Linked DNA regions of Homo sapiens: regions 2 and 3 are each linked to region 1. The links are contacts of gene promoters, found by promoter capture Hi-C in human tissues and cell types (Jung and others, 2019). All regions are on one chromosome and are shown on one strand. Each heading gives the region's core, a stretch centred on a gene start or on the middle of the fragment in contact. The rest is flanking DNA. Distances are from core to core; before and after follow the strand shown.

Region 1 (4,022 bases), core at 1,077-3,576:
ATGTACAGTTTTGAAAATCTCTTTATTCCTGGTATAGCATGGACAACTATGCATGGTGGTATTAATGGAGTTACTTCTGTTTCTCCAAATAGCTTTATGGTAAGCCCACTTTGTTCTCTATCTATACACAACTGGGTTAACTTTTTTTCTAATCCATGGTTACAGTACTTCAGAGTACTTCCTTGAAGGCACACTTTTGTACAGAAAGAGGTGTTTCTACAATGGGTTCCTAGAGGTGAAATGGTAGGACAGACAGCATAGCTACTGTTCAGCTGTCCTCAAGGAAGAGGAGAGTTTCTGTTTTCCCTACACACTGGCCAACACAGCATATCATCAACATTTTTTTCCCCCAAAAAACAATGTATGTATTTCAAATCAGGCCATGATTTTTGATTAGCAGTGGTCTTCAAGCTTGATTGAGCATTGGCATTATTTGGGTAATTTTTCTACCCCCAAAGTTTTGTCAGCAACATCTCACTATGGTAGTGAAAAAATAACCTTCCTGTTTTAATTTACTTTTCTTGACTGTTACTGAGATTGAGAAATCTTCCTCTTCTGTTTTATTGACCACTGACATTTCCTCTTCTATGAACTGCCTGTTTAATGGTGTTTGCTCATTTGTACTCATCTTTTTCTTTTCTTTTCTTTTCTTTTTTGAGATGTAGTCTCGCTCTGTTGCCCAGGCTGGAGTGCAATGGCACAATCTTGGCTCACTGCAACCTCCGCCTCCTAGGTTCAAGTGATTCTCCTACCTCAGCCTCCTGAGTAGCTGGGACTACAGGCATGTGCTACCATACTCGGCTAATTTTTGTACTGTTAGTAGAGACGGGGTTTCACATGTTGGCCAGGCTGGTCTCAAACTCCTAACCTCAGGTGATCCACCTGTCTCTGCCTCCCAAAGTGCTGGGATTACAGGTGTGAGCCACTGCACTCAGCTAGTTTTACATTTTTAAAAATAGATATCATTTTCCTTATTTTTAGGAAGTTGAGTGGCTTATGTATTTAGTCCCTTATCTTGATTCAGTCTATCTAGGTCATTTTACAAAATCCTGATTCAGTCTAACCACGTCATTTAAACAAATATTTAGCTCCTCTTTGCCAAATGATTTGGACCCCTGAAATAACGATATAAGAATTTCAGGCCAGGTGCGGTGGCTCATGCCTGTAATCCCAGCACTTTGGAAGGCCGAGGTGGGTGGATCACATGAGGTCAAGAGTTCGAGACCAGCCTGGCCAACATGGTGAAACCCCATCTCTACTAAAAAAAAAAATACAAAAATTAATCTGGCATGGTGGCAGGCGCCTTTAAGCCCACCTACTCGGGAAGCTGAGGCAGGAGAATCCCTTGAACCTGGGAGGCGGAGGTTTCAGTGTGCTGAGATCACGACATTGCACTCTAGCCTGGGCAACAGAGCAAAAACTCCCGTCTCAAAAAAAAAAAAAAAATTTAAAAAATAGTTCTAAAATTACCTAGTCTAGGATAGGCACTGAGTTAGGACCTTCATATCTGTTATTCCTTTTATTTTCAGAAAAATTTGAAAGGTATCACCCTAGTTTTACAGAAGAGTGAACTTTGGTCAGAAACATTAAGTAACTTACTCAAGGTCCCTCATAAACAGCAGGGTTGCGCTTGGAATCCTGATCTGTCTCTAACTTCTCATTTGCAGATAAAGAAACTGAGGCCAAAGTACACAACTAATTTGCCAGCGTAACAGGTAATTAGGAGCCACACAGCTCCCTTTCACATTTTCTTTCTATTATTTCATGGTTAGAAGTTACATAATTTCCACTGATATTAATACGTAACCATTTTTTTGTTGTTGTCGTTTTGTTAGTATTGTGTGTGAGATCGAGGTGGGTGGGCAGATGAGTTAAATATTATTAATCCAATTTAAAATAGATTCCAGATATACACAGCCTTTAGCTGACGAGAATATCATCCCTATAATCTGATAAAGCTCAAGTGACATCATCCTGGCTAGTATAAACTTTAACATTTTTAATGCGAATAGTCTATGAAAACCACAGATTTCTTAATCAAGCTCATTTTTGTGTTTCCAACTCTGCCTTTTCAGCCTGCAAACAAAATGCTCTTCCCCCACACCCACTGCTGTTTTCTACTTTTCTTATGATTAAAAAAAATATTTCCCTTGGTAACCATTTTCCCTGGTTACTTTCTTGGCTGATTTTCTGCACAAAGAACTGAAAGGCATTTATCCCCAAGGGAGGCAGTTATTTTAGATTTTACTAAGAAGTTCAGCAAATACTTTTCAACATTCCCTTCTGTCCTTTCTTTGTTTTTAAAGAAAGCTCTGATTTTGTTTCATTTTCAGCTGGAGACTTAAATGACACCAAGCAAAGCCTACTTAGTTTAGATCTCCAGGTAAAAAAGTTTTAAATTTTAAGTTTCTACTTAGCATGTGGAATGGTTTTAATATTTGGGTATTTTATTTCACAACTGTTTAACTCTTGAGTAAATTAGCTCGTTACTAATAGATTTTTAAAGTTCAAAGTATGCATTATTCTGTTTGTTTTTTTCACGATGTACTTCCCAAGTATTTCAGACCTTGTATACTTAGTATTAAATTATTTTTATATGTTTAGGTGGAATTATGTGTTCAATAGAAGTATAAATTGGTTTGAAAATATTATTAATTTTTAAGTCCTAAAAGAACATAAATAATTCAAAATATTTTTCATTTTAAATCTGTTGAATGAAGTGAAAATAGATAATAGACATCTCATGACTTCATGTAGAATTTTAAAATTCTAAATTAATATTTTTAAAGTTTACTTAAGATAACTGGTAAGAAATTTTAAATGAAGAAAAATAAGTTAATCAAGGTTTATAAATAATATTTAATGTTGGGATAAACACAGTAAGTGCTAGAAGGAAAAAAATTACTTGATAAAAATGATACTATGATTGGAATCCCAGAAAATTTACCTCTAGGAGGCAAACACTCAATTACGAAGTTGTTTATGAAAGCAAATATTAAGTGCAAAGCAAAATTCTGTATATCAATGAAAATAATGAGGGCCTAAGCATTAATAGTAAAATTAGTATTGAGAGACCATTTCCTAAAATGTATTTAAACACTGTAGTGAGACTGTTTAGATACTGATTTTGTCAAAATTCAAATAGCTCTGTAAGTTTATTTCTGTGCCTATCTATTTAGATTTCTGGGTAAGTAAAAGTGAGTCAATTTGGGGGAAAAAAAGAAAGAGAGGTAGTTTCCAGAATGAGGATACTGGGAGAGAGGGGTGTGCTCAGAATGGCCACAGCTGGCACATTCACACTCCTAAGCACTCAATCAGGCAATGCCCCATAAGTGAGTGCTTTCAGGATGCCTCAGGACAGCAGGATGCCTGAGACCCTCATGAGAGTTTAACTCTAGAGCCTCGAGGTCTAGGCCCTGACTCCTCACAACAGGATGGAAGGTCTGCACATACAATTGTTAATGCAAGAAAATTTCAATGTATACATTTCATGCATTGCAGAGCACTTATGATATCCATCAGAGCACACTTGCCATGCCACTCAGCAAATTCTAGTTTCACTTTGTCTCTCAGTTCAGGTTTTCATATTGCTTTCCCCTGCTGTTGTTGTTATTCCCTTCCAACATACTACTTTGCTCTCTGAATTGACTTTTATGATTTCAGGTGCCAATCAGCTAATGGATTTGGTCCTTCTTTACATGCTGCATGTTAATTTTTCTAAAACTAAAGTAGATTGCAAAAAGTTGTTCAAAAAGTTGTTCCAGTAACCTATGAAATATAGGTCATTTCAATAACCTATAGTAATGGTTTTCAAATGACTGTGGCAATTAATGTATATATACGCTGAAGAAAGGTTTGTATGCTGGCATGAAGATACTTTAGAGACTGCCGTTTGTTGAACAAAGGTGATGTGGCAAGTCAGACTATGAACTAACTAAGTGAAACCTGACTAGAGGAAGATGATTCTGGCAGATGAAGTTATAAAAAGAAGTACTGAGATTCAAGAGGGGAAACTGAGCTGA
Region 2 (4,054 bases), core at 350-2,849, 160 kb after region 1:
CAATTACCACACCACCACACCACGTATCCTATTCCCTAACAGCTAGAAATAATCTCACTCCTTTGCCTAGGAGAACTCTCACAGGAATGAGTCTTAATTCTCTTAATAGTACATCTATGTTAATAATGTAAGCCACATACACCACAAGTAACTTGAAGGCAAGAACCATGTATCATTTAATCACTCATTTGATAAATGATTGCGGGAGTTGAGTTCCTGTACCAGTAATGATAGAGTAAGCATATTCCACCCCAATGCTTCCGTTAACTATAATTTAAAACCATGAACACAGCACATAAAGCAAACATCAGAAACTCTGAAATGTGGAATGAAGAAAGCAGGACAGGTAGAGTCTTCAGGAATCAAGGGAGGACCTGGAAAAGAATTCCTTAGGATTTATTTTTGCCTCCTGTATATCCCAGTCTGTACACAGGAGCAAACTGCAACCCAGAATTACCAAAGGGTACATTAACAACAACAATAACCCAAAAGGCCCCAGGAAAGACCATTCCCTCTAACCAACGGAGATCATGCAAAATGAGAAGAAACAGGCCTGGCAGAAGGGAACCCCAATGCCAAAAAGGAGCTGTGCCCCTTTCACTCCTAATCAGGCACTTTAGCCACAGAGGCTGAGGTGTGAAGCCTGTCAACCATCACTGCCAACAATAAGAAAAGCAGGCAAAGCAGAGTCCTCACCTCCCAATCGGGTACTGCTATTGGAAAGACTGAGAGAGGAAGCTTTGTCAGCTAGCCCCAACTGACACCAAGCAAACATAAGCAAAGAAAGGATGTCATTTCTGATCTCAACCAGCATGGCAGCTGCACACACAGTGGGTTGCTCTGTTAACTTTCCACACCCTGCACTTAAGTCATCCCAAGAAGAGATAAGGGAGAATCAGAGAAGAGGAGCCTTCAGACAAGAATCTTTTACATCTGTTTATGAAATCCTAAATAACCCCTACATAAAACGAACCAGAATCTACACAGAAAAAAAATACTGAGAACTGAATTATAGTATAGAATAATTTCCAGAATTCACATTGGCCTCAGGATAGTACATAAGTAGGGCAGACCACAATAGGATATTGAACTACAGACTAAAGTGGGCTAGGGTGTGCTTTTGAATTAGAAATTCAACAATAAGAACAAAAAAATTTTGGCAAAATAGGAAGTGCTGGGGTCATCCTGTCTCAGAAACACTGAAAACTACTGCATAGCTGTCAGAATCACTTTTACTGGAATTTGGGAAGAGAGTAAAAAGCTTACAACTGAGAAAACACTTAATCAGAAAAAGGGCAACTGAAAAAGGCTAAGAGCGTTTTGTAGTACTGTAAGATACCCTTGCCACACTCCCTACCTGGCCACAGTAGCAGTCTTAAAGATAGCATGCTACTTTACTAGCCTGAGAACCTAATCCTGACAACAGTCAAAGGGATCTTATTCTCAAGGAATTGTTTGTCTTGACTTGGTTCCCAAGTAAAAGAGACCTCATTCCCAAGGAATCGTTTTGATTCAAGGGGTCTGACTGCATTTCAGCTAAGTCAGAACTTTCTTGCAATTGATACAGGAGCTAGAAAGAAATTATTTAGGTAGATAGTGAGGGTTAAGGAGCCCTCAGAAAGGCTTCCCTTTTAATAAAAAGCAGCCCCCAAATCATTTCTTTTCTAACAAAGAGCAGCCTGAAAAATAGAGCTGCAAACATAGATAAGCAAGCTAGAAGTTTGCACAGGTAAATGCTCTGCAATAGAAAAGGGATACCTGGAAGCCAAGTATGTTAAACATGGAGGCTCCATCTTCCCTTTTCTTTCTTTTTTTTTTTTTGAGACTAAGTCTCACTCTGGAGTGCAGTGGTGCAATCTCGGCTCACCAAAACCTCCGCTTCCTGGGTTCAAGTGATTCTCCCGCCTCAGCCTCCCAAGCAGCTGGGATTACAGGCGTGCGCCATGATGCCTGGCTAATTTTTTTGTGTATTTTTAGTACAGACAGGGTTTCACCATATTGGCCAGGCTGGTCTCGAACTCCTGACCTCAGGTGATCTGCCCACCTTGGCCTCCCAAAGTGCTGGGATTACAGGCGTGAGCCACTGCACCTGGTCTCCATCTTCCCTTTTCTTTGTCACCACGTGTACAGTAAAAAAGCAGGCAACATGGCGCTGGCCCAGTAGAGAACCCATCTGCATAATAAAAGATTAGGGTGGGGCGGCCAGCTTCTTCACATCCTATGCAAGCGGTACACCTGGTCTGACCAATTTTTTGTGCCCTATGTAAATCAGACACTGCCTCCTCAAGCTCATCTGTAAAACCTGCATTTGACTGTGGAAGCGGCAACCCATTTTCTCTGGGACCCCTCTCTGTGCAGACAGCTCCTCTCCTTCTTTCACCTATTAAATATCCACTCTTAACCTCACAGTGGTGTGTTCATGTCCTGGTTTTCCGTGGCTGTGGGACAATGAACCTTGGGTATTACCCCAGACAACAATGCTGCTTCACCATGAAGACATAGCTACACAGGGGATGTTTTTCAAAAATACTAAAAGGCAAATTAACAAGTTGCTGCTGTGTAGGGCAAAAGCACAGTTGAGACAAACAACAGATATGCTGAAAGCCAAGGAAAGAAAAGGTAGGGAATGAGAATCTTTGGGGAATAAAGTCTTGGAAAAAGTGCTCAAGTATACCAGGGAACTAGAAAGCCACTTGAATGCTCAGGGCAGAATGCATGCTTAGAAGAGATCTGAGGGGAGCATAACTTCAACCTCTGGCTAATCTCTAGGCTAAGGACAGGACTAAGGCAGGGTTGTGAAAGACCTGGCTAAGCACTGAAGTAGTGTCCCCATACAGAACCAAAATGCACAGACCTGGAGAAGATATCTTTTTTTCTTATTTTTTTCCTTTTTGCCCATCATAATATTCAAAATGTACAGTATTTAATGACAATAACAAAAAACTAAGCATGCAAAGAAACAAGAAAATATGGCCCAGTCATAGGAAAAAAAAAAAAAGAAATTAACAGAAACTTCTCCTGTTGAATGACTAGGGGAATTACTAGGCTATGATTTTAAATCAACTGTCTTAAATATGTTTAGAGAACTCAAGAAAATCAAGAGAACAAAGTATGCAACAAACAGGAAATGGCAATAAAGAGAGAAATTTTTTTAAAAGAAATAGAAATTTTAGAACTGAAAAGTACAACAAATGAAATTAAAAATTCACTAAAGGGGCTCAACAGCAGATTTGAGTGGGCATAAGAATCAGTAAAAATGGCCGGGCGCGGTGGCTCACGCCTGTAATCCCAGCACTTTGGGAGGCCGAGGTGGGCGGATCTCAAGGTCAGGAGTTTGAGACCAGCCTAGCTAATGTGGTGAAACCCCATCTCTATTAAAAAAAAACCACAAAAATTAGCCGGGCGTGGTGGTGTGTGCCTGTAATCCCAGCTACTCAGGAGGCTGAGGCAGGAGAATCCCTTGAACCCAGGAGGCAGAGGTTGCAGCGAACTGAGATTGCGGCACTGCGCTCCAGCCTGGGCAATAGAGTGAGTCTCCCTCTCCAAAAAAAAAAGAATCAGTAAAAATGAATATAGGTCAAGTGAAATTATCCAGTCTAAGAAAGAGAAAGAAAAAAGAATGAAGAAAAATAAACGGAGCCTAAGAGACTTGTGGGACACCCAAAAAAGTACTAACATATACATAATGAAAGTCAAAGAAGGAAAGTTGAAAAAAAAGGGAGCTGAAATTATATCTTGAGAAATAACAGTCAAATCCCTCTGGATGAAAAAGTTAATATACACATCCAAGAAGTGCATAAACTGCAAATAGGATAAACTCAAAGAGATCCACATCAAGACACATTATAGTAAATCTGTTGAGCTCCAAAGAGAGAGAATCCTGAGACTGATATCCAGCAAAACTCTCTCTCACAAATGCAATAGAAATTAAGACATTCCCTGATTCAAGAAAGCTGAGGTCTGTTACTTGTAGACTTGACCTACAAAAAAATGCTCATGGGAATTCTTCAGGCTAAAAGGAAAAAACACTGGACAGTAACTGAAAACCATATAT
Region 3 (3,855 bases), core at 199-2,698, 180 kb after region 1:
AGATAGGGTCTTCCTTTGTTGCTCAGACTGGACTAATGGAGTTTTTCAGCACATACATGTGAATATAATTCACATGAAAACTACCACATGAAGCAGGAAGGGGAAGTGATCCATGTGGTTATAGGACCACAAGACTATAACTGCAGTGGTAAAGTATCAAATCTAAATAGACTGTTAAAAGTTAGGTTACGTATGTTATAATCCCCACAGCAGCCAATAAAAAATAATACAAATATAGCCAAAACGTGAATGAAATAAATTAAAAGAGAATATTAAAATATATTTAAAGGAGAGGGTTTTGAGAAGATGACAGAATAGGAAGTACCAGAATTCCATCTCTCCACTTATATAACAATTTCACTGGCAGAATCTGTTTGATATAACCATTTGGAAACTCTGAGTCTAATGAAGGCTGGCAACATCCAGGCAAAGGCTTGGAGAAGGGCTTGGATGGTAAATTGTGATTAATTTTAGCAAATTTCAGCTCTTAGTATAGCAGCAGCTACCCATTTCTTCACCCCCACCCCCCTGGCAGGCAGTCATGTGAGTATAACCAGAGCAGCTTACACACAGCTTATAGAAGCCAGAGCAAGCAAAAAAAAAAAAAGGACCCTGTCCTCCAGCCATAAAGGATCTGTGTTTTGTTCACTGCGGCTTCTTATCACAGAAGTGTAGACAAAGAGTCAGGCAGCCATTGTAGTTACACATCCCCACACTTTTGAAAACCCTGCTTCCTCCAGTTGAAGTGATTTCCAGGGGACTTAAAAGGCCAGAGCTCCTTTTTTCCCACCTTCATTTTCTTCATTTCCCCTTTCTAAGAGCCGAACAATCAAGACTAGGACATTGACAAATAACTGCATATAAGGGGAGATTCTGTAAGAGATTGCACATACCCATGGAAAGCTTCAAGCCCAGAAACAAACTGAGAAGACCTTAAGTTTATACCTCAGGTTAATCCCTGGCACAGAGATGGCCTACAAAAATATGAATAAATAAATAAATAAAATAAATAATAACAATAACAAGCCTGTAAACCCTGGGGAAGAGGGAGAATCTGACTTTGGGGGTTACCACATTATTAGGTTCAAATGAGCCCTTTTCAACAACAATAACAACAAAACACAAGGGATACAAAGAAATATAAAAGAAGGCTGGGCACGGTGGCTCATGCCTGTAATCCCAACACTTTGAAAGGCCAAGGCAGGCGGATCACCTGAGGCCGGGAGTTCAAGACCAGCCTGACCAACATGGCAAAACCCCCTCTCTACTAAAAATACAAAATTAGCTGGGTGTGGTGGCACATGCCTTTAATCCTAGCTACTTGGGAGGCTGAGGCAGGAGAATCGCTTGAACCTGGGAGGCAGAGGTTGCAGTGCACCCAGATCATGCCATTACACTCCAGCCTGGGCAACAAGAGCGAAACTCCATCTCAAAAAAAAAAAAAAGAAAGAAAGAAAAAAAAAGAGATACAAAAGAATGGCCTCGTGAAATGAAAAAAAATAAATGAATAGACAGCATCCCTGAAAAAAAATCTGATGGTAGATCTACCATACAGACTTTACAACCACCATCTTAAAAATGCTAAAGAAAGATCTGGAGAAAGTTAAGAAAATGATACAGGAACACAATAGAAATATCAATACAAAGAAAGAAACCTAAAAGAAAACCAAAAGAAATTCTGGAAGTGAAAAGTACAATAATTAAAATGAAAAATTCACTACAGGAATTCAAAGGCAGATTTGAGTAGGCAGAAAGAAAAATCACCAAACCTGGAGATAGGACAATAGAAATTGTCAAGTCTGAGAAATAAAAAGAAAAAAGAATGAGGAAAAGTGAACAGAATGTAAGGAAACTAGCTGAGCGTGGTGGCTCATGCCTGTAATCCTAGCACTTTGGGAGGCCAAGGTGGGTGGATCACTTGAGGTCAGGAGTTCAAGACCAGCCACACCAACATGGTGAAACCCCATCTCTACTAAAAATACAAAAAATTAGCTGAATGTGGCAGCAGGCACCTGTAATCCCAGCTACTCGGGAGGCTGAGGCAGGAGAATTGCTTGAACCTATGAGGTGGAGGTTGCAGTGAGCTGAGATTGCGCCACTGTACTCTAGCCTGGGTGACAGAGGGAAACTCCATTAAAAAGAAAAAAAAAGAATGTAAGGAAACTGTGGGACATGGGGACATGTCAAGAGAACAAACTACCAACTTCTGCACTGTAGGAGTCTCAGAAAAAAAAAAAAAGAGAGGAAGAAGCAGACAGAATAAAGTGTTAAAACATCCCAAATTTGATGAAAGATATGAATATAAAACATCCAAGAGACTCAAAGAACTCCAAGATGAACTAAGAGATCCACATAGAGAAACATTATAATCAAGCTGTCAAAAGACAAAGACAAAGAGAGAATATCTTGAAAGCAGCAAGAGAAAAGAGACTGGTCACATACAAGGGATGTTCAATAAAATGATCAGCAGATTTTTCATCAGAAAGTATGGAGGCCAGAAGTCAGTGAGGTCATATATTCAAAGTGCTAAAAGAAAAAAAAAAATCTGTCAACCAAGAATTTTCTATTCTGCAAAACTGTCCTTAAAAAGTGAGGGAGATAGTGGCCGGGTGCGGTGGCTCACACCTGTAATCCCACTACTTTCAGAGGCCAAGGCAGGATCACCTGAGGTCGGGAATCGGAGATAAGCCTAACCAACATGGAGAAACACCATCTCTAATAAAAATACAAAAAAAATGAGCCAGGAGTGGTGGCGCATGCCTGTAATCCCAGCTACTTGGGAGGCCGTGGCAGGAGAATCACCTGAACCCGGGAGGCAGAGGTTGCGGTGAGCTGAGATCGCGCCATTGAACTCCAGCCTGGGCAACAAGAGTGAAATTCCATCTCAAAATAATAATAATAATAATAATAATAATAATAATAATAATAATAATAATGAGGGAGATGATCAAAGGGATGTGGCTGGAGAAAAGAAAAATAAAACAAAAAATAAAAAAAGTGCAGGAGAAATTAAGACATTCTCAGGCAAACAAAAGTTGAGGGAGTTGGTTATCATTAAACTTTCTCTGTAAGAAATGGTCAAGAGAATTCTGTAGAGTGAAAGAAAGGACACTAGACAGTAACCTGAAGACATATTAAGAAATAGACTCTTAGAACATATGGAAAAAGGCAAAAGAAGTAAAAAGTTTAAAAAAACAAAAAAAAAGACTCAATAAAGGTAAATACATGTGAAATTATAAAAGCTAGTATTTTTGCAACAATAGTTTGTTACTCTACTTTTTGTTTCCTACATGATTTTACAGACTAATACATTTTTTAAAAATTAGACTAAAAGCTAGTATTAATGTAATTTTCATTTGTGACTCCACATTATTTTCTATGTAATTTAAAAAACTAATGCATTTTAAAGAATTATTAGTTTACATTTTGGGGTGCACAACATATAAATATACAAGTTCATAACATCAATAATTCAAAAGGCTGGGGACTGTTGTAGGAAGTCAGGGACCCCGAACGGAGGGACCAGCTGGAGCTGCGGCAGAGGAACATAAATTGTGAAGATTTCATTTTAAAATGGACATTTATCAGTTCCCAAATAATACTTTTATAATTTCTTACACCTGTCTTTAATCTCTGAACATAAATTGTGAAGATTTCATTTTAATATGGACATTTATCAGTTCCCAAACAATACTTTTATAATTTCTTACACCTGTCTTTAATCTCTGAACATAAATTGTGAAGATTTCATTTTGATATGGACATTTATCAGTTCCCAAATAATACTTTTATAATTTCTTATGCCTGTCTTTACTTCAATCTCTTAATCCTGTTATCTTCATAAGCTGAGGATGT

The links. The method cuts DNA at HindIII sites, captures the fragments that hold promoters and counts their contacts. A contact is called where the count stands out against the background at its distance.
Region 2: a fragment that was not itself captured here is called in contact with the fragment with the promoter of ECM2 in region 1 in 2 of the 25 tissues and cell types used here (dorsolateral prefrontal cortex and hippocampus).
Region 3: a fragment that was not itself captured here is called in contact with the fragment with the promoter of ECM2 in region 1 in 1 of the 25 tissues and cell types used here (lymphoblastoid cells).

The regions. Positions count from the first base shown.
Region 1 is chr9:92,534,294-92,538,315 of GRCh38, reverse strand. It overlaps ECM2 (extracellular matrix protein 2), which reads left to right and starts at 2,326. Exons shown (of 10, transcript NM_001393.4): 1 at 2,326-2,383. All of the region lies in intron 5 of CENPP (centromere protein P), which reads right to left. The HindIII fragment of the contact is 14,623 bases long and covers 1-4,022 here.
Region 2 is chr9:92,374,800-92,378,853 of GRCh38, reverse strand. All of the region lies in intron 4 of CENPP (centromere protein P), which reads right to left. Among named protein-coding and RNA genes, the nearest start is that of OGN, 28 kb to the left of the region's middle. The HindIII fragment of the contact is 3,555 bases long and covers 1-3,376 here.
Region 3 is chr9:92,356,543-92,360,397 of GRCh38, reverse strand. The region is part of intron 4 of CENPP (centromere protein P); the gene reads right to left. Among named protein-coding and RNA genes, the nearest start is that of CENPP, 33 kb to the right of the region's middle. The HindIII fragment of the contact is 6,350 bases long and covers 1-3,855 here.